Regions from separate parts of the Homo sapiens genome. Here regions 2, 3, 4, 5, 6 and 7 are each linked to region 1. The links are contacts of gene promoters, found by promoter capture Hi-C in blood cells and fetal thymus (Javierre and others, 2016). All regions are on one chromosome and are shown on one strand. Each heading gives the region's core, a stretch centred on a gene start or on the middle of the fragment in contact. The rest is flanking DNA. Distances are from core to core; before and after follow the strand shown. Region 1 holds the start of CHIC2 (cysteine rich hydrophobic domain 2). Region 2 has its middle 9.3 kb from the start of RASL11B. Region 3 overlaps USP46 (ubiquitin specific peptidase 46). Region 4 holds the start of EXOC1 (exocyst complex component 1). Region 5 holds the start of LOC124900704 (a long non-coding RNA gene). Region 6 has its middle 11 kb from the start of ERVMER34-1. Region 7 overlaps CEP135 (centrosomal protein 135).

What was found. The method cuts DNA at HindIII sites, captures the fragments that hold promoters and counts their contacts. A CHiCAGO score of 5 or more calls a contact.
Region 2: a fragment that was not itself captured here is called in contact with the fragment with the promoter of CHIC2 in region 1 in 1 of 17 cell types (fetal thymus); the score reaches 5.2 in fetal thymus.
Region 3: a fragment that was not itself captured here is called in contact with the fragment with the promoter of CHIC2 in region 1 in 1 of 17 cell types (total B cells); the score reaches 6.1 in total B cells.
Region 4: a fragment that was not itself captured here is called in contact with the fragment with the promoter of CHIC2 in region 1 in 3 of 17 cell types (total CD8 T cells, naive CD8 T cells and total CD4 T cells); the score reaches 12.6 in total CD8 T cells.
Region 5: a contact is called between a fragment that was not itself captured here and the fragment with the promoter of CHIC2 in region 1, in 1 of 17 cell types (fetal thymus). The highest score is 5.3, in fetal thymus.
Region 6: a contact is called between a fragment that was not itself captured here and the fragment with the promoter of CHIC2 in region 1, in 1 of 17 cell types (naive CD8 T cells). The highest score is 5.0, in naive CD8 T cells.
Region 7: a fragment that was not itself captured here is called in contact with the fragment with the promoter of CHIC2 in region 1 in 3 of 17 cell types (non-activated CD4 T cells, naive CD8 T cells and total CD8 T cells); the score reaches 7.5 in non-activated CD4 T cells.

The regions. Positions count from the first base shown.
Region 1 is chr4:54,062,836-54,066,541 of GRCh38, reverse strand. It overlaps CHIC2 (cysteine rich hydrophobic domain 2), which reads left to right and starts at 1,937. Exons shown (of 6, transcript NM_012110.4): 1 at 1,937-2,360. The coding sequence starts at 2,242. RefSeq lists enhancers at 1-32, 2,029-2,529 and silencers at 1,630-1,869, 2,100-2,229. The HindIII fragment of the contact is 3,181 bases long and covers 1-3,113 here.
Region 2 is chr4:52,851,144-52,854,923 of GRCh38, reverse strand. No RefSeq gene overlaps it. Among named protein-coding and RNA genes, the nearest start is that of RASL11B, 9.3 kb to the left of the region's middle. The HindIII fragment of the contact is 1,496 bases long and covers 544-2,039 here.
Region 3 is chr4:52,646,120-52,649,645 of GRCh38, reverse strand. The region is part of intron 1 of USP46 (ubiquitin specific peptidase 46); the gene reads left to right. Among named protein-coding and RNA genes, the nearest start is that of USP46, 11 kb to the left of the region's middle. The HindIII fragment of the contact is 980 bases long and covers 1,031-2,010 here.
Region 4 is chr4:55,850,406-55,853,726 of GRCh38, reverse strand. EXOC1 (exocyst complex component 1) reads right to left here and starts at 79. Exons shown (of 19, transcript NM_001024924.2): 1 at 1-79. RefSeq lists a silencer at 188-287. The HindIII fragment of the contact is 455 bases long and covers 1,447-1,901 here.
Region 5 is chr4:55,543,077-55,546,538 of GRCh38, reverse strand. All of the region lies in intron 1 of CLOCK (clock circadian regulator), which reads left to right. It overlaps LOC124900704 (a long non-coding RNA gene), which reads right to left and starts at 674. Exons shown (of 2, transcript XR_007058122.1): 1 at 1-674. RefSeq lists a silencer at 5-634. The HindIII fragment of the contact is 293 bases long and covers 1,269-1,561 here.
Region 6 is chr4:52,738,363-52,742,120 of GRCh38, reverse strand. No RefSeq gene overlaps it. Among named protein-coding and RNA genes, the nearest start is that of ERVMER34-1, 11 kb to the left of the region's middle. The HindIII fragment of the contact is 1,069 bases long and covers 1,761-2,829 here.
Region 7 is chr4:55,950,468-55,953,747 of GRCh38, reverse strand. It overlaps CEP135 (centrosomal protein 135), which reads right to left. Exons shown (of 26, transcript NM_025009.5): 2 at 1,505-1,662; 3 at 473-663. The coding sequence starts at 1,617. It overlaps LOC124900705 (a long non-coding RNA gene), which reads left to right. Exons shown (of 3, transcript XR_007058124.1): 3 at 1,277-1,357. Among named protein-coding and RNA genes, the nearest start is that of CEP135, 3.2 kb to the right of the region's middle. The HindIII fragment of the contact is 504 bases long and covers 1,386-1,889 here.

The DNA.
Region 1 (3,706 bases), core at 688-3,187:
AGCATCTCTGAAATATAGCATATCATAGCATCTCTGAAACATAGCATATCTGAAAATAAATACACCCTCTTTGCTTACCTCACAGGTTCTTGGGGGAATATTAAATGATATATTATGTACGTGCTTTATAAGCAGTAAAATATTACATAATGCTGTGGTAACCCTCACAGGGTTGATAAGCTAGGGAGCCTTAAGCATCACCTATTACCCCGTATTTATTGTGTACTGGGCCTTCTTCTAGGCACTTCACCGATCTTAAGCCCTTGAATCTGCTGAGCATCCCAATGGGGCAGGTACTGAACAGGGAAGTTAAGTGGCTTGTCTAGGGTCACACAGTAAGTGGCAGAGCTGACATTCAAGGCCAGGTAGTCAGGTTCCAGAACACACATTGTTAAACACCAGACCAAGCTGCCTCCTGTGTGCCCCACTGACACTTCCTGTGTCCTCCTCCATGAGCCCCTGGCAGAGATGACAATTGCTTGCCTTAACAATAGATAAGCTACCAGAAGTCAGGGCCTGTGCCTCATTCACACACGTCCACAGTGCCTGCCACATAGCTAGAGTTCAGTAGATATTTGTTGAATGAACAAATACCCTCCAGGGAGGGATACAATAAGTCTGATACAACTACTGTATTTTTCCTTCATTTTTTCTTGGCTAACCACACTCATTTCCTTCAGTTGTTTCCAAAAGGAGGTTGGCATCTCTCACTGTCCTCATTGACCTCCTTTGCACTTTCTCCACGTCAACAGTGACCCATCTAAAGCCGACTACTGTGACATGAACACTGCACTTGAAGAGCCTGACCAGCGCTGGGCTCAGTAGAACTATCCTTTCTTCTCCCATGGTGTATCCTCACTGTCCAGGACTCTCTTCTCAGAAGCCCACTCCTTCCCCTGTGCTGTTTATATGCTTAATGAAACCAAGTACCCAAAGTGACCGTTCAACTGTTACTAGGCAGCTAAGTAGACTCCATTAAACCTTTTCCTTCCTTCCTCCCCTTCTTTCTTTCTCTCCCATTCTTCTTTCATTCTTCTCGTCCTTCCTTCTATCCTTTCTTCCTTCCTGCCTCCTTTTCTTCCTCTCCTCTGCCCTTTCTTTCAGGTCTTTTTTGTGGTAGGAACTGGTAAGAAAAGGAAAGGAATTCCCTAAGATTTTAAGGAAACAACAACAAAAACCAGGTTATGTTTGGTGAGAGAGTTGGGGCAAGAAACTGCATCTTCTAATATGGAATCCAGGTAATTTATCAGTTTTTTTTCATAGCATGACTACGGTGAGATTTCTTGTAAGAAAAAAAAAAAAATACCAGCATCGCTGGCCTCATATATTGGATTATACTTAAGGGGATCAAGGGATAAGATGTTTGAATTTGGAGATGTCTTGAAAAATCCTGTGGTGAGCACAAATGTTTGCAGTGTCTCTGCTGGACTCCTCAAATTGGGAAAAAAGAGACTCTGGTTCTCATCATAGACTCAAAACCTGAGGAAAAGCGAGATGCGATTATTAGATAAACTGGCAATGACACGCACAAAAATGTGTCTATTCCAGCCAGGGCTTTTCTTTTCAGTTGTTTGTTTTGGTTAGAGATGACTTTGGGGAACTGCATGTCCCACTGGACATTCCAAGCTGCGTTGTCGGAGTCGCGGGTCGCGGCCTCCAGTCAGCGGAGCCGCCGCCCCCAGGGTCCGCCACCCAGAAGTCGGCGGAGGGGGGCCCGCCGGCGGGAGCGCGCGCCCCGGTCGCCGTCTGCGGGTAGAAGCAGAGGAAAGACGGTGGCCTGGGAGCGCGCGAGGCCGCACGTGCGCGCGCCCGCCCGCCCGCCAGCCAGTCCGCTCGCCCACGCGCCCACGCACGCGCCCGCCCGCCCGTTGGCCCGGGAAGTCTCGCGATGCCGTAGCCGGCTGCTCCCGCTGCGGGTGGCTCGGGCTGTTGCTGTGGTTTCCTGAGTTGCTGCTGCTGCGGCGGCGGCAGCGGCGTCTGTGCTTGTGGAGGTGTCGGCCTCTGGGCGGATGTTGACATTGTGTTGTTGTTATTGCTGATGGTAATGGCGGCGGCGGTGGCGGCGACGGTCCAGACCCCATCCCCTCTGTAGCCGGAGCCGAGACAGCCGACAGCGAACTCCGCGGCCTCGGAGCCGGCGGCAGCGGCGACTCCCCTCAGCCTCCGCCGCCTCGCCCGCCGGTACCCCGGCGCCAACCCCGGGAGTCAGGCCCTTTGGGCAGGGGAGCTCGGAGGCTCAGGATGGCGGATTTCGACGAAATCTATGAGGAAGAGGAGGACGAGGAGCGGGCCCTGGAGGAGCAGCTGCTCAAGTACTCGCCGGACCCGGTGGTCGTCCGCGGCTCCGGTCACGTCACCGTGTAAGGCCCGGAGGAGGGCGAGGGCGGGAGGTGCGGGCTGGGGTGGGCCCCGTTACTCCACGGGAGCCCCGTTTCCCCTGTGTCCGTCTGGTGTCGGGGGCCTTCCGAAAGAGTAGGCAACCAGGAAGTGAGAACTTGGCTTATTTTCATTTGTTTGGGTCTCCGAAGTGGGGACGGACGCTGTCCTTCCTCCTCCACACACCCCTTTAGCAGGCCCTACAGGCCCGGGCGATGTGACGATCCCAGTAGGCACGGGTTTTCATTAGGGTCTGCCCTGCGGGCCACCCTTCCTCTTCAGGGTGGAAGTACGTGTATTGACAGGGAGCCTCCTTGTTTTCTCGCCCAGTTACCCTGTGGTTGTCTGTGCCTTTGCACCCAGTGACATGGCTCAGAGGCCAGATCTGGGCCGTGTGAGACCCCAGTGACAATTGGCAGCGAAGCTCCGTTTCGTGTCTATTTCACACATACCCACAGGTCTCCCAGTTTTTCCACTAATTTCCGCAGAACTAATGCAAGTTCTTGTAATTGTACGTGATAAAAATATATAGTTGAACACAAATTTAAGATATACAGAAAGAAATATGTTTACAACAACAACAACAACAACTACGTGAGGGACATACACTCTGCTCAGGTTACTGAGGGAAAATTGTAGTCCTGAAGCTCCTCCTTGGGGCACGAACTTGGGGCTTGTTAATTTGGAAAGTCCCACTAGTAACATTAAAAGTCTGATATTAATAAGGAATGAAAGCTTTCGGAAAGACCATGACAAAGGAATGTGAAGCCTTGAACCAAATAATGAGCTGTCCGGAAGCAGGAAGTTTTGTAATGTTTCACTATGAAGTCCACAGTTTTGTACCACTTGATGTATTACATTGATACTCTCTCATTTTAGATCTCTTGTTCAAATAATAGATCAGACTTCCATACTTGTCAGGTATCTCTGTACTTCTTCACCTTTTCAGTGAAACAAAAGAGCCAGCAAGTCTGAGAATGTCTGGAATAGTCTTCATTATATTTTGGTGAAGAGTGAGTGGGATGTGCTGTGAATAACTTAGGGAAACAGTAAGACTTCTCATATAAGTTTGTCAGCAAAATAATTGCATTTCTCGTATGACCAGCCATATTGTTGTTTGAGTATGCTTATGTAATGCTTTAATTTCTTTAGTACCTGTTAGTTTATGTTCAGGTGACTTAACAGGGTAAAAACACTGCATAATTGCCATCACAGCACCATGACAAGACAGTGGAATTTAATTCACCACAATAATACTTTCTAAGTGTTGTCACCAGCTTAAGAAGTATAACCAAATATCATGGATATTAAACTTTTAACATATATCACA
Region 2 (3,780 bases), core at 42-2,541, 1.2 Mb after region 1:
ATAAAGCCATTGATAGAAGTTCCCTCAGTTAAATGTAAGGTCTAATAATATTGCAAATAGACAGTGGCAATGTTCTTTGGGATCATTCTCTTCTCCAGTGGGAAGAATCTTACAAGAATATCCCTCTGCCTCTTCTCCTTCTAACTCGTTATTTGTTCAGAAGATAAAAGAGCAAAAGAAATGAGCATTGGCCTTGGCCTCACAGGACCGAGTACTCTTGGGATACTTGACAAGATTTTGTGATCAGAAGATATGCACAAGCAGGAAAAGTTCAGAAAGATTCAGACGAATGGGCCAATTGTTTAACAGACCTCTTTGGGTTCAAATTCTTAAGTAGATTAGACATACCTCATATTTGCCTCTAACTGCCCCTAGAGTGCAGAAAGGGCTACCTAAGGACATTTTAGGCGTCCTTGTTTGTCTTCGCATAGAAGGCAGTATCCTCTCCCCAAAGCATCAGCTCCTTAGCATAATGTACTAAGACCTAAAGGAAATCAAAGCTTTTCAAAAATATCCATCCATGATATGGGGAAAGAACAAGCTTCATATCCCCCCATACCTCAAGTCACCTGGAAAGTGAGAATTTAAGTCTTGTCTGGGGCCACACTGGTTCTCATTGCTTTATCGGGCTCAAAAATCAGGGTAACCATCAAATACTTTCTAAACTCTAATTAGTGACACCGTCTCCAGCCATTCAATAGTGTCTAAAATATCACAAGTCACAGTATGAACGATCGAAGTTGAGCCCCAAGTTAGCAGAGGTATTTAAGTTACATAGTTGATGAAAATGCAAATGGAGACTGATCATCTCTTAAACAAGTATGAAATTCAGTCACCACCAAGGAACTTTTCTTTTTTTTTTGAGATGAAGCCTTGCTGTGTCACCCAGGCTGGAGTGCAATGGTGTGATCTTGGCTCGCTGCAACCTCCGCCTCCTGAGTTCAAGCAATTCTCCTGACTCAGCCTCCCGAGTAGCTGGGACTACAGGCAAGTGCCATCACGCCCGGCTAATTTTTGTATTTTTTAGTAGAGACAGGGTTTCACCGTGTTGGCCAGGCTGGTCTTGAACTCCTGACCTCAGGTGATCCACCTGCCTCAGCCTCCCAAAGTGCTGGGATTACAGGCGTGAGCTACCGTGCCTGGCCAAGAAACATTTTTACTGTAACAGTAGTCTGTGAACACTTAGGATTTTCACCAAGATATATGCATTGTTAATGCTTTTTCCTTCTAATTAAAAAAGAAAATGGATAACAGATGAGGAAAATTTGATGTGATGGTTTTTAGGAAATGCACAAATGACTCATGCACTCACTTGATTTGACAAGGGTACTGGTTTCTATATAAAGAAACAACTTAGGCCCAAAATAGAAGTTGTGCACAGCAGATTGTAACTGATAGAGGAACTGCACATTCCAAGCATCAGTAGTGTGAAGGCTGGTATGCTGGGACATCTCTGCTGAGAATGTTGTGTGAAGTCCATAATTAATTATTATTAATTCAGCTGGAATGTAAAGCTATCTGCTCCAAAGTGTTGCAAGATAGAAAAGCTCTAGTGTCATTTGAGATGATTTTAACTAACTCTAAAAGCAAAAAACAACAACAACAAAATATTGTTTTGCAAAGTATGTGTACCCCCATGCTAACTGGGAAATATATTCAGCTCAATGACAAGTAAACTACAACAGGTTTTGTGCCGTACAATATGTTGAATGCCCAACAAAATTTGTCATATAAAATAGCCTGGTAAATTATAAAAGTTTAATACTTTGATATGTTCATAATGAAAGTGAAACAAAGAGCTCTTTTTCCAGCCTGGATTGTCCTTTAATTAGTGGTTGGGAGGTAGCACTTTCATAAACTTGTCAAATCTTCTCCCAAATTCCTCATTACCTGGACTTAGATGAGGAGATAGGCAGAAAGACCACGCTGAAGCCTTTCTTATATTCATTTGCCAAAATACACAGTACAGCCAAGAGCCAAGGCATTCCTCTGCTCTCTATCCCCAGGCAAGAGATGGAATGATTCCTCTTGGACAAGCTTGCACACTGTGTTATCAACTTCAGACCTACTGTGATTTTAGGGCAGAAGACAGCAGCCTTGCCTGCCAAGCCCCACAACCTTGTAGAGAACAATATCCAGACTGTAGTCCTGTCCAGCGCAGGCTCCAGAAGTTTCTCAGCAAACCAGTGAAGCAATACGACCCTTAGCAGCTCTTCCCCCACCACTATGAAATAGTTCGACCCATAAGGAGAGCCCTTTGAAGTAATGACCGACCTCCCTCTCTCTTCCTCCATCCTTTCTCTCCAGTTCACATGCAGGCCCAGCGCTGCCTGGAGGCTTGGTTCAAGCTTGTATTTTTCGCCATTTGACATGCTGCATTATTTGGTGGGCTGTTTATTGTCCAACTCTCCACACTAGAGTGTAAGCTCTGTAAGGGTAGAGATTTTGTTTTGCTCACTGCTCTATCCCCAGAACCTAGAGTGCTTAACACACAGCACATGCTAGCACTTAATGGGTATTTGTAAATGAATGAATGAATGAATCTGTGCATTTTGTATGCAATGAGAAAGGAGGCAGTGGGAAGAGCCTGAGGAAGCTGGAATTGTGGAAGTGGATGGGGGAGCCGGGGCTGGAGTGGGGAGGGAGTGATGGGGATGAGATCACAGAAGCAGAGGCTGGCTTTGGAGATGAGGCAAGCTCTCAGGATGCTCCAGATGTAGGCTTAATCTTGGCTCACTTTTCCACTGGCACCAGTGGAAAGATGAAAGGGAAGGGCTTGAAGGGTGAGGTGACTGTGAAGAGGAGAGGATGGAGAGGGTGAGAGGATGCTGCTGTGGCCCACTCAGGTCTCAAGGAAGTAGAATTTAGGTCATTGGCCCAGAACAGAGTGAGAGGCAAGACTAGGAATGGCAGGCTGGTGGTGGGGAAGTCAGAGGGAGAGCAGGACAGGCAGGCGACATCCACTGAAAATGCTTTGGCAAGAGCCAAAGGACCAGCTGAAAAGAGAAAACAGGAGTTTGGAGGGTGTGATTTGGGCAGCAGCATTCTCTATGGGGAAGGAGAGGCAAAGCGGGGTGGGGAGGCATCTCAGAGAGCCAAGAAAGTGAGTTTATCTGGAATTTTGGTGAATGGCTGATTCTGGAATCCAAGTGGGAAGTGAATCAGGGATGTCCATCAGGAGCCTATAATGGTGAATAATTCTGGAGCCTTCCTGTAGGCCAGGCACTGTGCTGCACACCAAGTGTCTAGTGGCACAGCATCTCATACCAAGAGTGGCTGTGAAAGGACACATGTATTTGACTGTACAAGGGCAAGGACTGTGCGATTTTTTTCTACTTCTTTATTCTCTGCACCTAGCATGTGGCTGGTATATATTAAGCACTCAGTAAATAGTTGCTGAATAAAATTAATGAGCAAGAGCAGGTTCTATGCAAGAACTGGCAGATACGGTTTTCTTTCTCTTTTTTTTTCTTTCTTTCTTTCTTTTTTTTTTTTTTTTTTTGATGGAGTCTTACCCTATCGCCCAGGCTGGAGTGCAGTGGTGTGATCTCGGCTCACTACAACCTCTGTCTCCCGGGTTCAAGCAATTCTTCTGCCTCAGCCTCCTGAGTAGCTGGGACTACAGGCGCCTGCCACCACACCTGGCTAATTTTTTGTATTTTTAGTAGAGACAGGATTTCACTGTGTTAGCCAGGATGGTCTCAATCTCCTGACCTCATGATCTGCCCATCTCAGCCTCCCAAAGTGCTGGGATTACTGGCATGAGCCACCGCACCCAGC
Region 3 (3,526 bases), core at 271-2,770, 1.4 Mb after region 1:
TATCATGCATAGGCATTAGCTGGAGGTCTAGTTGAAATGTCAATTTGGATTCAGCACGTCTGGGGCAGGGCGGAGATTTTGCACTTCTAACAAACTCTCTGGTGGTACAGATAATGCTGGTTTCGGGACCATTTTTAGAGCAGCAAGGCTTTGGGAAAAACAAAACAACTTCTATTTTCCATATAGTTGTAAAGTGGAGGAGTTTGGAATTCAGAATCCTGTTTGGTAAATCTCAGATCCTATTTATCTTTTTACAACAAAGGTAGTCAATGAAATACCTTCTTTAAAGCTTTTTGGGGAGCATCAGAAGAGATCCTGCCCATGGAAGCACTGTGTGAGCTATGATGCCTTCATGCTTGTTAGTTTTCATAATTATTCTCACTCTTTTAGTTCATCATTATTTTCCTTCTGTTTGCTCAAAGTGCAAAGCTGTTGGTATTTCAGGATCCAGTGAAATTCTACTTCCATTTTGACCTGCTGTCCACATTTAGTGGGGCACTTTGGGAGGAGTGACATTGGGGAAGGAAGTTGGCAAAAGCAGAGGCCAAATTCACAGCATGGTTTGGTTCTGACTGGGTGCTGTGGTGGTGAGGGGGCCCTGTGGCCCTGTTTCTGTGGTATTGGGAGACACGGGTAGAGAGAGGCCCACAGGACTCTTCTAATCATTGCTGTAGTGGATGACAGGACAACAGGAAACTGTCTAATTGGGTTCCCAAGTCAGATACTTTTCAAAGAGAAAAGAATGCTCAGAGTAATTATAAAATATTAATTGATCTGTAGGTGTAATCTGAGCTATTCAGGGCAAACTAGAGGTAGGTCCCTCTAAGGTTAAGCTACCATAGGACACTCCTATTTAAATGCAGAGTTTCAGTATGCTTCAGGAACTGGGTTTCCCTGCCTCATGAATCAGAGGGTAATGTAGTAATGGAGAGAAGGCAAATACAAATAAATAAATAAAAAATAACATTCAGAACGAATGCATATTGTATGGTTGGCAGTGTAGGGGTGGATAACCTATTATTTCCAAGCTTTTCTTACTCTAGAGAAAAACTGTGGGATGGATCCAGTTGCTTAGGTCAGTGATACTCAAATGTCAGTTTGTCATCATTGTTCATGGTTTTTGCTACATCTGTGTATCACTTGAACTTATTTACTTAGTTTTCCTTAAATCTGTTCACCCTAATTTGACCTTATTCTGAAACATCTGCAAAATGATGGGTTTGATGAGCTAATTTTATGCTTTTCTAATCCTTTTCAAAAACATTATTGCTACACTTAAAACTGTTCATACTGGTGCCACCTAAGAGTAACTCCCCTCCCTCCAGGATTCATGGCCCATAGTTTGGGTGACATTGGCTCAGATAAGAGGTTTTTTGTAGTGGCTCAAATAATCGGCTCTTGGAGGAGCACCATTTGTTGAACTACTTTGTAGATGATGGTCTGGTCGGTGAGCTTCCTTGGGAGGCAAGTGAGCACATGGCTGAGATATGGTTGGACTTTCTACACCACTGTTGATTGGGTATGAGAGCTTGATGTTCTCTACCCTTGTAAAGACATGCTTCTTATCCATAGCCTGTGGGTGATGAGAGAACTTACCTTCCTGGGTCATTGTGGGGCTTAAGCAGAGAGATTGATGTCTAGTGCTTAGCCTGTTGCCTGGGCATTGCATTACCACTTTCTTCCAGTGCCCTTCTTATTTCCATTAGTGAAAGAGTCCACCAAACACTGTAGTAGACAGAGCCCTGAGCTAGGACTCAGAAATCCCAGGCTCTGATTGCTTTCCAGCTTTAGCGGTGTTGGGCAGGTCACTGAGGCCTCTCTGGGTCTATAAAATAAGAACCACTCCTGCTGGTGAGCAGTGGCAAGAAGACGAGCATGTGTGTTATAAACCAGCTATGGTTTTCAGTCAAGGAGAACTAGGGAAGGGCTGCAGGACAAAAGGAGGAAGAAGCTATGATTTCTGACAAAAATGCCATTGGAAGACACATGCTGGTGGTGTGTGGCCAAGCTTTTGTTGTCACTAGTCAAGATACAATGTTTTTCCTTTTCCTGAGAATGAGAGCACATTCTGTAGTAAAAGATATGTTGTCTTTGAATGAGCTTATACCACACTCTTTTGTGTCATTTGGCACACACAGCCTTCCTAACTGAGAAATACATGAAGTAGCTAAGCGCAGTTTCTTTTCTAAATTTTTAAGTAAAGTGTCTGAATAGGTACTATGAGTTTATGTGGCAGAAATTTCAAAATGTGCACAAGGTTGTATGTTGAAAATAGACCCAGTGTCCAATTCTTATCTCTGGCATCTATCAATAGTTATAGTTTCTTATGCTTCCATTTAGAGTTATATGCATATACAAGCAACTGTGTTTATATTTCTCTCTTAGTTTTTAAAAACACAAAGAGTACATAGAGTATACCCTGATCTGTCCTGATCTGCCCCTTGCTGTTTGTGTCTTGTAGGAGGGTCTGTGGGAAGAGCCACCTCATTCTTTTTTTATGGCTGCAGAGTATTCACTTGCTTGAGTCTACTGAATTCACTGAACCAGGCCCTCACTGACTAGCAGGACATGTTGTAGGTAGTTTTCTAGTCTTCGGTTTTTACAAACAAGGCTGTAAGGAACAACTTTGTCCATATGTGGGAGTATATCTGTGGACCGACTTCCTAAAAATGGATTTGCATTTGTAACTGGGATGGATTTTGCCAAATTGCCCTCCATCAGCAATATGTGTGACTCTGGCTGCCTGCAGCCTTGCCAAAGCAGTGTGCTACCCAGAAACCTTTTGATCTTTGCCAGTCAGGGGAAAGATGGTGTCTTAGTATATTTGTAGTTTGCATTTCTCTTATTAGAAGTGAGCTTCAGCAGCTATTCACATATTTAGGAAAATAAACTCAATTTTATTTAAATACCTTGCTGTTGGTAATTATTTTCAGAGTCTGTAGGGAAGGACCAGTTTTATTGTTATTTTCAATCTGTCTCAGACCAATATATTTGTAAAATACAATAAAAAGGAATAACTAGCAAAATGGAATTAAAAAAACCCAAAGAGAAATAAAATGCAAGCCTTAATTTTTTTGTTACTAAACTTGACAGATACAAAATTACTCTATCCATTCATTTTATCTCCATGTTTTTAGTTTCTGGATGTAGCTCACCACAGAGAGTTTTGAGTAAATAACATTGCTGTAAAGAACAACTTACTCATGTTTTTTCTCCCATTGCTACTCTATTTGAGGATGGGAGGAGAGAGCCCAGAATTTTATATTTTACATTTCATAATCAGCACATTTCAGGATGGTTTTGTTACATTAGTGGAAAATATCTCTGATGGTGCAATACTGACCCAGGAGGGACTGGTTCCCGAGGGCCGGGTTGCCGCACAAGTGCATTGAGGCATGTTGACTCCTGCAGTGCTCCCCATGCTGTAAGGTGGGAATGCAGGTGTTGTGATTTTCACTGATGAAGACCTTGAGCTTGGATGAGAAGATGGGAGGATGAAATCACCCTATTAATAAAATTTACAGAG
Region 4 (3,321 bases), core at 425-2,924, 1.8 Mb before region 1:
GATACGCCCCTCAATAAAGCGTTGAACGGGAAGCGGCCGTTCCCCCAACACTTCCTATATCCGGGCACGTGACAAACTCCGCGCCGGAAGTTGACCGCGTAGAGAAGGAAGAAGCAGCGATGGGAGAAAAAGGGAGCGGCCAATAGACGCGGAGGGGCGGGGCGCCAACCGACGGGCGTGGCCAGGCGGAACAAGGCCTCATTGGAGGGGCGTGTCAGGGAAGGGCAGGGGCGGGGCCTTTGTGGCACAGAAACTGACTTGGGAGTTGGGGATTAAGAGTTATTTATTCAGATATTTGCAGCAATTCATTTAAGAAGAAATTCGATTAAATGTTTTCTTTTTTCATACGTAAAGCTCTATTAACTCTAGATCTTTGCTACTTAAACTTTGGAGAGCTTAAATGAGTTAAATCAGAATCCCTGCGGGTGGGACCCAGACATCAGTACTTTTAATATCTTCCCAGATGATTCTCATATGCAGCTAAGGTCAAGAACCATTGTCCTCATGACCTTGATACTCAAAGTGTGGTCCGTGGATCAGCTGCTTGGGTATCATCTGGGGGCTTTTTAGGAAATGCAGCCTCTCTGGCTCACTTCAGATCTACTGAATCAGAATCTGCATCTTAGCAAGATGATGCTTATGCATATTTAAGTTTGGGATGCATAAATGATGCCAATGTTGCTGGTTGCAGGTAGGTGTTTTATTTATTCAATATTCCTGGCACCTTTTTTTTTTAATGCTAGGCACTTTGATTCCAGGTACAGAGGTGATTCAGGCATGAATCTTAACCTAAAGGAGTTCACAGTGTGGTAGGACTAGACAAGGTGTAGGTACAAATATATATAAAATAGGACACAAAATAAGTGACCAAAGAGAGGTACAGATCAGATAAATGTGCTAGAAATTTAAATGAGCAAACAGTAGTTAGAATACTTTTCACTTTCATCAAATGACTTCCCTTTTAAGAGCAGGATCTGGTTATATCTTTACAAAGACCCTTTCCTGCTTGGCACCGGAATGCTTACTGTGGACACTCTATGACAATTGCATGTGTTTTTTGGTCCTATTATCTTTCTTTTATTTACCTGTATGTTTATAGCCCTCCTCAAAGTTGGGAAATGAATTGCATTTCAGAAGCCTAGATCTCTTTCTTGAACCTCAAGATTTGTGTATATACTGCCCATCGCCTGACATTTCCACTTGGATGTCTTATAGACACCTCAAACTTGTGTGTCCAAAAATTAAATTATCCTCTCTCCTCTTGGATTCCCTGCAAAGTGACACTTATATGCAATAGTTTATTTGGAAATTTGATCCCAGGGAGCAAAATGAGGGAAGAGGAAGAAGACAAAACAAAAAGGGAGATGCAGTATAAGAATGTGTTACTGAGTTGGTCATCACCATATTTGAATGTTTTCTTAGTCCCTTAGGACCTTCTAAGAAGCTTTATGAAATGAGTCTCAGAACTGTCCATTAAAGGAAAGAACGGAGGAAGCATTTGTATGTCGGCTCCTGTCCTCTTTGATCGAAGGTTAATGCCCTTGGGCATTAACTACTTCACACTTACAAATCGCACAGTTGTGAATGCCAAGCTGACTCCCACATCAGAGACATGCTGGGGCAGGAAGTGAGAGGAGAGGTGCTGGTATTTCGCACTTGTTCAAAGGTCATCAAACCTGCTCCGAGCAGGTTGCTGCAGCAGTGGTTAGAATAATAGGCTGAAGGGATTTGAAGTCATGGCCTAAGTTGCACAGAAGGACATAGAAGGTGTCCATATCTTGCAGCACTCTGATCTGCCTGTGTGCTCTGTTATGTTCAGTCCTTCACAGAGGTCTCTTCAAGGTGATGGCCAGCCACAATCTCAGCAAAGCCTTAATATAAGAGAGTTAATAGAATAAGCTTCAGTTTTTACTGCTGCATCAATGTCAGGACCATACTTGTATTAACTCCCTCTTCCACTACCCATTCTAATTTTCCCTCACCATTGACCAGCACATCAGCTGGTCTAAGTTGTTTCTCTGGTGAAATAGCCCCCACCTTCAGCCTTTATTTTCCTTTCTCTGGTTAAGCCATGATTGCTGTAATTACCTGTTCAAATTATCCCTGGGTACAGAAACACCTAGTAAGCCCCAGCGAATTATTTGGATTCCAAATTCCTCCCTAGTGCTATTGTGGAGCAACAATCCTAGATCCTTTTGCTAATCACAGTTGATTACTCCCACGAGCATAGTAACTCCTTTCTTTGCCAGCTTGTCCACTTCCGTAAGAAGCACAAGGTAACTAAGTAAAAGTTTGAAGTGCAATGAATTCCATAGTGTTTATCCTGGTGGCAGCATTCCCCACTCAACTCCTGAAGAACCAATTATTGCAATCTAGCAAATACTAATTTTTTTTTTTTTGAGACAGAGTCTCGCTCTGTCACCCAGGCTGGAGTACACTTACATGATCTCAGCTCACTGCAACCTCCTACCTCCTGGGTTCAAGCAATTCTCATGCCTCAGTCTGCATGGCTTACTACCATGTTGCTTCCAAGTCTTTGCTCAAATGTTACCTCACTGAGGCCTTCCAAGAGAACCCTATGTAAAATAGTTCCCCAACCACCCTCCTCCCAGTATTTTTTATCTTCCTTTTTTACTTTTGTTCTTCATGGTTCTTGCTACATTTTGACATATTGTATATGTTGTTTGTTCATTTGCTGTTTCTCTAGAATGAAGTTTTATGAAAGCAAAGATTTTTATCTGTTTTTTTCAGTGATGTATCTCTGATTCCTGGAACTCAGAATAATATCTAACAATTACATAGCACTTATTATGTGCTATGTACTATTCTAAGCATTTTACATGTATTAATTAACTTAATCATCACAACTACCCTGTGAGGAAGGAATCTTTATTATCCTCATTTTAAAACCAGAAAACTGAGGAACAAATTGTCTAGTCCTAGGACACGTGGTATACCATGGTAGTCTCTCAATGAATATCTTTATGTCATCACAGCCTACTGCATGAAGTAGACTTAAGAAGCAACATGAAATAATGAAAAGTATATCATTACTGGAATTGACACAGGAGTGGGGCAGGGAAGTGCTGGGAAGGGAAGGACGTGGGCCCTGGCTAGGGCTCCACCACTGGGCCTGTGCCCATGGACCTAGGTGAGGACAGGCACTCCTGCCTTCCTGCCCAAATGTTGCATTTTCCAAGACCACCCTGGCCTGCCACACCCCTGCCTTGTGCCTATAAAAACCCTGAGACCCTAGCAGGCAGAGACACAAGCAGCTGGATGTTGAGAAGAACATATTGGCGGAAGAACACACAAGCGGCT
Region 5 (3,462 bases), core at 166-2,665, 1.5 Mb before region 1:
CGCAGCGGGAGACCTGGGTGGGGGAGGGAAGAAGCCGGAGCCGCCGCAAGCCACACGGTGAGGGCGCGGGGAAGGGGAGGGAGCGGGGGGCGGCGTGTGTGGGGCCGGGGGGCGGCGGCCAAGGGTGGGGAAGGCGGGAGCTGAAGCCCAAGTTTGGCGTGTCGTTCTAGTGTGTCTTTTCCCGGGACTTCGGGCCGAGGCCCGCCCTGCCTGAGAGGCCCTCTGGGGCAGCTGGGGTTACCTGCGGGGCAGGGGCGGGAGTGGGGTGCACGGCGGGGCCGGGCGGCTTGAGGGCGCCCGGAGCTGCGGCCGATTCCAGCAGCTGGGAGGCGGGGAAAGACGGGGACCGGGTGCCGAGAGAGCTTTCGCTGGGGACCCGCTAGGCCTTGTGACCCACTTTATTCCTGTCACCACTCGGGCACGTTTGGAGCAGCGCCCAATGGGGCGCCGGGGCGGCCAGCTCCTCCGGGGAACCCCCGCCCTCCCGGCGCCCGGCCCGCGTGCCGCAGTCCGCAGTCCGAACGGCCGCCGTTGCCGGCCGCGGGCTGGTTCCGTTAGTGGTGGTGGTTCCGGGGTTCCGTTCCTAGGCAGCGCGCGGCTATTAGCGTCTGACTCCAGCGACCGCGCGCGGGTTCGAGGGTTGGCGGCGAGGCGCTCGGTTTCTCTTCTTCCGTCCACCCGCGCTTCCCGTTCCCCGTCACCGCCGCTGGCGTTTGTAGATTTCTTTCCGCCAGTGAAGCTGGGTTTTCTGGAGTTGGCTCTGGCGCTCTGGCCCCTGGAGTGTAATTTCCTACACGCAGCGCCGCAGAGTTTATATTCTTTGAAAGTGTTTGTAGCTTTGTAGAGGTCCTCTTGTTGATGGTAGGTGAGCCTAATTCTGCAAGATAAAAGCCTAGTCTCTGACCTGGCAGATGAAAGATCAAATCAGATTGTGGTTTCCTGCTATTAGAATGCCGTGCTATTAGACTTTAAGGCTTTTTAGCCTTCTTTAAAAAATAAAAAAATTTTTACAGTGGAAGAAAAGCACAAGAAGTAAACTTTTACAGTCGTTGATTTGACTATAACGCTGATCCCCCCAAATCAAAGGTAATTTCACTTTGAAGATTGCGTTCTGATTTGTAGCTTTAAGCGATTAGAGAAAATTGTGCAATATTCCCCTCTACCTGTTTGAAAATAAACATTCTTAAAAGGATGTAATTTAGATAATGAATTGCTTTCTCTGAAACTTATCCCTTGGGACACCTCAAATCTGATTGGTTTTCAAAGCTTGGGGGAAGGAAATTAATTCCTGTGATAAGTGGTTGGCTGAACAGAATGTCTTGAAAGGTTAGCCTGTAGCATTAGGAGAAATACCTAATGTAAACGACGAGTTAATGGGTGCAGCACACCAGCGTGGCACATTTATACATATGTGACAAACCTGCACGTTGTGCACATGTACCCTAGAACTTAAAGTATAATAATAAAAAAAGTAAAAAAAAAAAAAGTTAGCCTGAAGAAAGCAGACTGAAAATGTTCTAAAGCTAGGCGTAATCAGTTATGAAAAAAGAATAAGGAAGCTTTCTACGTACTAACATGCAAAGATTGCAAAAATTTGCTATGAAGTGAAAAAAGCAAGGTGTAGCGGTACTTTGTGAATAGTGTGTTACATCTTAAGGGCGAGGTGTAATAATACAAGTTTATGTTTGCTCTTTATATAAAGAAATTATGGGAGGATTTAGAAAACTAACAATAGAGGAGAGGGAGAAATAGTCTGAGGGAATGGTGGGAAATGAGATGTATTATGTGTATGTCTTCATGTTTTCAAATTTTTGTGTGTATTATGGACTCATAAACTGGATTAAACAAAAATCCTCCTCCCCCAAATAATTTGTGTGATTTTTGTTGCCTAATTTATGGTGATTTGAGTCATTTTCAATATGATTGCTTTTCATATTTTTTAGGAAAATCAACTAAAAAGGAAGTTTGGGATACCTTTTATGACTATTTACACTTTAATTTTTAAGATTGCAGAGGTCACAGGCATTTATCTTTTAAAGATGTTTAGTTATATCTTGCCTTGCTAAAATATATGACTGTTTACATTTGGCATTATGGCTGGATTATGCTGCTTTCAGAGTGTAGTTTGTGTTTCCCCCTCCTCTTTTTTTCAGGAGTCATAGATGGGTAAAATTTTACTTAACCCCAAAGTTTCATGACAAACAATTATGAGGAGGATGTGAACATTCCCTTAAAGTGCTAGTAAACTTGATTGTCTAGGTTAGTTTGCTTTTCAGGTTGGGAAACTTTTCTTTCTTTTGAGGAAATCAAACATGAACCCCAGTGAAAGGTAAATTGGGGTGTGTGTGTGTGTGTGTGTGTGTGTGTGTGTGTCTGGTTGTTTCTCATGAAAGTGTACAAAATGAACATTTTTTTAGGACTGGATTGTTGAAAACCTGTTTAATGAGGTTAAGACTGCACAGGCAGCTGTTAGATGAGATATAATTTTGGGAGGGGACCCTCAAACTCCCCCTGGTGACTAATATTGTGTAATGAAAGTAGTGAATAGTGAGTAATGGATTGCAGTTGCTGTGGGCATTTTTGTAATATTACCAGTATTCCTTTTTATTTTGTAGGATAGGATACTTATATTATTTCTGTTTGATATGTAGGTTTTTCTAATAGACTTCTGCAAAGTGTCACTTATTTTTCATTTGAATTCCATGTGGGTCCGTTCAATCTTTTTTAAAAATGGAATTACATTTCAATTTTTTTTTTTTTTGGAGACGGAGTCTTGCTCTGTCACCAGGCCGGAGTGCAGTGGCACGATCTTGGCTCACTGCAACCTCCGGCTCCCAGGTTCAAGAGATTCTCCTGCCTCAGCCTCCCGAGTAGCTGGGACTCTTATTTTTAAAATTACAGAAGTAAATTGATGCTCATAAAAAGTTAATACAGTGTATATATAATAAGTGACAACCCCTTTACATCCACTTCTAGCTCACATTCCTCCCCAGAGGAATCTAGGGAGCACAGCTACTCGTATACCCTTGACTGAAGGGTAACACTGTTAACACCACTGTATGATCTTGTAGATCTTTTTCTGTGCATTTGCAAATATGTTCTTTTCAGCCTTGAAAACGGAATCATCTTGAATGATCATCTGCTTTGCCATTTTGCCTCCAGTATGGGCTCTGTTATTACCTACAGGACAGGGACATGACTTGGAGCCTGTCAGAAAGCTTAACATCTGATATAGACCATAGGTCATACTCATCTTTTCACTAGTGAGGGGCCAATTGTTATGGAGGCATTTGCAGAGTTTGAAGGGAGGTCATACTGATGTGAGTTTTATCTGGTATAGATTTAATTCACTGTAAACTTCGAGCGGCCGAGGTGGGAGAATGGCTTGAGCCCAGGATTTCAGGACCAGCCTGGGCAACATAGTGAGACCTCTTTGCTACAAAATTTTTTTAAAAAAAATTA
Region 6 (3,758 bases), core at 1,046-3,545, 1.3 Mb after region 1:
AAAAAAAAAAAAAAAAAAAAAGCACAGACTGGGTGTGGTGGCTCATGCCTGTAATTCCAGCACTTTGCGAGGCTGAGGCAGGTGGATCGCTTGAGCCCAGAAGTTGGAAATCAGCCTGGGCAACCTGGTGAAACCCTGTCTCTACAAAAAATTAGCCAGGTGTGGTGGCATGTGCCTATAGTCCGAGCTACCCAGGAGGCTGAGGTGGGAGCATCACTTGAGGCTGGGAGGTCGAGGCTGCTGTGAGCCAAGATTGTGCCACTGCACTCCAGCCTGGGTGATGGGGTGAGCTTCTGTCTCAAAAAGATAAAGAAAAGAAAACTCATACTCTGGAACAATAGAACCCTTATAGATGGGTTTGTTGTTCATAGTAATGTTGATATCAAAAGAAGGTAGGCTGGGTGCAGTGGCTTATGCCTGTAATCCCAGCACTATGGGAAGCCAAGGCAGGCAGATGACCTGAGGTCAGGAGTTGGAGACCAGCCTGACCAACGAGGAGAAACCCCATCTCTACTAAAAAAAAAAAAAAAAAAAAAATACAAAATTAGCCAGGCCTGGTGGTGCATGTCTGTAATCCCAGCTACTCGGGAGGCTGAGGCAAGAGAATCACTTGAACCCACTAGGCGGAGATTGTGGTGAGCCAAGATCATGCCATTGCACTCCAGCCTAGGCAACAAGAGCGAAACTCTGTTTCAAAAAAAAACCCCAAAAAGCACAAAACACACACACACACACACACAAAAGAAGGTAATAAAAACTTTCAGCAATATAGGACACAAGAGAAAGCCTCCTTGAGCTGAAAGATATAGGACTTCCTGTGTTTGTTATGCAATATGCATTGAAACTAGAGAAGCCATTAAAAGAAATGCAACTTTCAGTATTGGGTATTTGTGGTACTTGGTTTTCTTTCTTTCTTTCTTTCTTTCTTTCTTTCTTTCTTTCTTTCTTTCTTTCTTTCTTTCTTTCCTTTCCTTTCCTTTCTTTCTCTCTCTCTCTCTTTCTTTCTTTCCTTACTTTCTTTCTTTCTCTCTCTCTTTCTCTCTTTCTCTCATTCCTTCTTTCTTTCTTTCCTTTTTTTTTGACGGAGTTTCACTCATGTTGCCCAGGCTGGAGTGCAGTGGCACAATCTCAGCTCATCGCAACCTCTGCCTGCTGGGTTCAAGTGATCCTCCTGCCTCAGCCTCCTGAGTAGCAGGGATTACAGGCACGCACCACCATGCCCACCTAATTTTTTGTATTTTTAGTACAGACAGGGTTTCTCCATGCTGGTCAGGCTGGTCTCGAACTCCCAACCTCAGGTGATCCGCCCGCCTTGGCCTCCCAAAGTGCTGGGATTACAGGTGTGAGCCACCGCACCTGGCCTGGTCCTCATTTCACAATGTCAAGTACGAATACAAAGTGAAGAGGAAATATGAAATAAAGGGGCAGTCATTGGAATGTTAGAAAATGTCTTATTAAAAGGATAAAGTTTCATCAAATAGCATGACTGATTATGAGGTGTGTTAAGCTGCACAATATTTGATTAAAGTAAGGTTTGTAGGGCATGACAAGTTATAGAAAATAGTTTCAACATTACTGGTGATGGACACAAAGGTATTTCTGATTTTCAAAACTCATAGGGGAAAAAAATCCTCTTTCCATTGTTATGCATCAGAAGGAACACAAAATAGGTTGGTTGGCAAAAACATTTATTAGCCAGCTCAAAGGTTCACCAGATGTTTCACCTTCCTATTTCCTGATACATTTATTAATTAGAAGCTTACTTAAGGAAAATTGTTATCCAATATTTTTTATCAGTGTGGACTCATGGATATATACATTGTTCTTTGGGTTGTAATCCAGTACTATCATACTGTTGCTCAAAGTGTTGCAGCTTTGGCCTTTGAGAGCTCTTGGAAAATTTGTTCCTGTTTCCTTTTGACATGCCTCTCCCTATGTGTTTTTTGTTTGTTTGGCCTTATTTTTTTTTTTTCAGCACTTCCTTACTCTCCAGCGCTCCAATATGCTGCAAGCTCATCTTTTATTTTTCCTGCCCAGCCCTAGAATCAGTGATTTTTTTTTCCCAAGAAACCATTGTTCCCTGTACTGAAAAATGGTTTTAGAAACCAAGATCTGGGCACAAGATGTGCTCATTGCTACTGCTACTAGGTTATCACTGTGTAGGCCCCCTCAGTGGACACAGCTAGGAAATGTTTGTATGTATACACAGATACCTATACATATATACCTACAGTTTATTGAAATAAACGAGTTTATACTGATATCTCCAACTCTCAGCACCACAGGATTCATTCTAGCCTCACCTTACCCCTTGCTTATTTGTAACTTTTCTGTTGCTGAGAAACCTGTCTCCTATTAGCTAAGATTTATTTGCTTATTTGTTAAACTCTACTATATGTGTAAACTAGTTACATAACATAGTTACATAATTGCTAACCTGTCCCTTTATGAGAAACAAAGTAACCAATTAGAATACAGCGTTTGCTTTTTTGTCTTTGGCTTTGCAGTATTCAGTCAAGACATCGTTTTCAAAAGTTAAATCGTCTCCTCAATTTATATATAGGTATATACACATATGTGTATATATATTCACTTCTTTAAAAGTTAACCCATCATTATTGGCATCTAGAGAATCTACATACAAAGTACAAGCAACAAGAAAATGCTAAATTCACTTAAATCATGAAAAGTAATTGGGCTAGGCTCCTCATACAATTCTAATGATAGTTACACAGATGGACTACTGAAGAACAAATACTTTTTATTCTTTTGATTGTTATCTATGACTTTATACAAGATATATGTTTTTTAATTTCTCCACAGAAAGCTTCAGAAGATGAGTATTTAAATGTAGCCATCTTAACCAGCAATCAGTACTACCACAAGGAATATTTCAGGGGTGGCAACAACCCTGTGATAATCCTGCAGCATGGGTCGATTTGCTTTCAAAACCTAGAGGTGTACAAAGTCAAAGGTGAAGAAAATGTGCATTTGCTGTTAAGAAAATATTATGATATACAGTAATTACAACTGTGAGGGAATATATGCAATAAAAATAATTGTTTGGGAGGAAATGTGGATGATTTTTTTTTCTGTTTTCCAAACGAAAGCCTTAGGACATAACACTTTTTGAGTGAGATCTTTGTGGTGACATAATAATTCTATATCTGAGTTGTGATGGTTCCATGAATTTACACATGACAAAATGACACAGAATGATGTAATATTGGCACACACAGCTCAATGTCAATTTTCTAGTTTTGTTTTTGTGCTATAGTGACTTCCACTTGGGAGAATTTGGGTGAAGGCTACGTGGAATCTCTCTGCACTGTTTTTTTTTAAATATATAATTCAGAGTAAAAAGCTTTAAAAAGTAATAGTATTTTACATCCTCAAATTAAACAGATGTGTAAATATATACATATATAGTTTATGTATGTTAAACCTAGTTGCCTTTTTTAATGAGTTTTTTTTCTGTATTAAACTATCCTTCAGAAAGGTTGAAGCAAATGTACCATGTATAATAGGATATTTAAAATTTCATTTTCATTGGCAGAGTAATTTCACAGGAAATGTATCTTAAGGAAATACTCTGCCCTTTCATACCTTCTGTCTTCCTAATAATTTCTACAAAGATATTCAAAAAACCCTTTTGCCAAATAAATGGTCTATAAACTTCTTAACACATCGTGCAGTGCCAGTCTTAATGGTTGGCCACTCCCTCTTTCCAAACACCTTCCCTGAATCACAGTGTGATG
Region 7 (3,280 bases), core at 388-2,887, 1.9 Mb before region 1:
AAGGGAAAAACAAAAGTTGTTTCAAGAACATTTCTTCAAATCCAGCATTTAATATTCCCTATGGCAATTTTAATTCTAAAATTTTAATTAAATTTTTAATTCTAAAAATTTAATCCACATATAGTGATTATCATAGCTATATAATGCACATTTATTTTCCTTCTCAGGAACTCTTCAACATACCCTATAGTATTTCAGGGGCTATTAGCAGAAGGAGTACCATATTTTCTTTTCTTTTCTTTTTTTTTGAAACAAGTTCTCACTATGTTGCCTAGGCTGGTCTCAAACTCCTGGGCTCAAGCAATCCTCCCACCTTAAACTCCCGAGTAGCTGGGACTATAGGCACACACCATCCAGCTGTAGGACTACTATATTTTCTAATCAATAGTTTTAAAATTAGACGTTAGCTTTTCCTTCTAAAATAAAAAGGACAAAGACATTGCATTTTAAAAATTATCAAATTTTCACTTACCTTTAACGTGTTGGTCTGAATGTTCTCTCAGTTTCATTAACTCTAGGTATAATTCATTATTTTCTCTACTCAATCTTGCATTTTCAAGTTTATAGGGTTCCAAAACAAAATCAAAATTGGCACTTTCTTTTTCAGCTTTCACAGCAGATAATTTTGATTGCCGAAGGCTCTCAGTTGTATGAACTAAGTCGCTAAAAGAACAGAAAATTTAAATACCAGGAAATATTTCATTAACTTTCTAATAACTAAAAACATATTTCTAAAGAGGCTTAAAATACAGTCATGCACCACATGATGACATTTTGGTCAACGACAGACCACATATAGGAAGGAGAGTAGTCCTGTAAGATTTATAATGGGGGCAGCTGAAAAATTCCTATTGCCTCATGAGATCTGGCCATTGTAACACTGTAGCACAACACAATACCTTTTCTATGTTTAGATATGTTCAGATATACAAATAGGCACCACTGTGTTAACAATTACCTACAGTATTCAGTATAGTAACATGCTATACAGGTTTGTAGCCTAGGAGCCATAGGATACAGACCATATAGCCTAGGTTTGTGGTAGGCGACACCATCTAGGTTTGTGTAAGCACACCCTATGATGTTGGTACAACGAAAAAATCACCTAATGATGACATGTTTCTCAGAACGTATCCCTGTCATGAAACTATCCATGACTGTATTTGAAGACCAGTGAAGCAGACATAGAACTTAAGGGGGGGAAAAAAAAAGAACTTAAGGGAAAAGTGTCTCTCAATTATATCAGAAACCCAAAAAACTGTAATTCCATTCACAGAGAAAACCCCCAGAAATGTTGACTTTGAACAGTACAGCGTGAGTGGTGGCCTTTAGAGTTCTGCCGTGTGGAAGGCCTGGATTGAGGACAGGGAAAAAACAGATAAGCTTCATGATTGAAAGCCTTTCCGGAAAGCTACCCTTTTCTTTACCAAAGCATGAAGTTCAATCAGAAATGAGGTAAGTGGTTAGGGATCATAAAGGTTGAAAACTGTATTTTTGTCTTTACCTGAAAAGTTTTTCTACCAAAGGTAAACACTCCACTGTCAGAGTCTGGCGGTATCCCAGCTGATCCAGCCTTTTCCTAATATTAATATACTTTCTCTCTACAGCTGTAGTCATCTCGTCTTCTAAAACAAGTTTTATTCACTTCCAAAAATTAAAGTCCTGAGAGAAAAGAATGAAACATCATTATCTTATTATAGCTATGATTGTTGTTTCACAATAAGAAGAAAAAATTATTTTAATATGAAGCAATTATTTTTTGTTTTTCTTCAGGTAGGTAGCCTTCTGGAAAATTCAGATTTAAAGCCAATGCTTATGATATTCCTGTTACTGCATTAAAATAAATACTTCCTCATACAACTAAATGTAAAAGTTAAAATCCTAAAGCTTCTAGGAGAAAACAAAGATTTTTCCTAAGCCTGAAGTAGGCAGAGACTTCTCAGAGAGGCCTCTTTTAAAAGCACTAAACATAAAAGATAAATTTGATAAATTGGACTTCATCAAAATTTAAAATGTCTGCTCATCAAAATACTCAATTAAAATAGAGAAGGCAAACCAAAGAGTGGGAGAAAATATTCACAATATCTGACAAAGGATTTGTATAGGGAATATAAAAGGAATTCTTACAACTCAATAATAAGACAAACATCCCAATAAGAACATTAATTTGGGCTAAAACTGTAATTTAGTTGCGCTAAAGATTCGAACAGACACCTCGCATAGGTGTCTGAATGGGAATGATGATATGAAATGGTGCTCAACAGTAGTCAACATGGAAATACAAATTAAAACAACAAGGTACATTTTCTCCCAAACTAGAATGACTAAAATTACAAGGACCGACAATAGCAAATGTCGACAAAGATCTGGAGCAACTGGAATCTTCACACATTGCTGACAGGAATGTAAAATCACTTTGGAAAAAGTCTGGCAGTTTTTTTATAAAGTTAAACATACTTCTGGACTATAACCCTGTGATTTTATTCCCAGGTATTTATAGAAATAAAAAATATTCACAAAAATACTCTACAAGAATGTTCACAGCTTTACTCATAGTAGCCCCAAACTGGAAACAACCTAAACCCCCATCAACAGCAGAAGGGGTAAAGTATGATATATTTATACAGTGCAATACTAAGGGATAAAAGGAACTACTGATACACATCAACAGCATGGATGAATCTCAAAAACATTATTTGAGCAAAAGAAACCAGACAAATACTGTATGACTCCATTTACATGAAGTTGATGAACAAGTAAAATTAAAACTATGGGGCCAGAAATTAAAACAAGAGTTGTCTGGGGAGGTGAGGCGGGCTGCAGATTGCCCGTTAAGAGTTAAGACACAACTTTTTAGGGTAATGAAAATATTACATTGATTGGGGTAGTGGTTACACAAGTGTATACATTTAGAGAATTTACTTTTCAAATAGTACACTTAAACTCTATGCATTTCATCATGTAAATTTCACTTCAATTAAAAAAAAAGACACACATAAGTACCTCTGTTCAAGTTTTTATCTTTGTCTTTTTAAATATTTATGAATATATTCCTATCAATCTGCCCTAAAATGGAGTTATCCAAAGAGCATTTCTTTTTTTTTTTTATTTTAATTGTTACCTTTTTTAGAGACAGGGTCTTGCTATGTGGCCCAGGCTGGTCTCCAACTCCTGAGCTCAAGGTATTCTCCCACCTCTACCTCCCAAAGTGCTAGGTTTACAGGTGTGAGCCAATATGCTCAGCCCAAAGATCATTTCTTTAGAAACTCTGCTCTTTTCT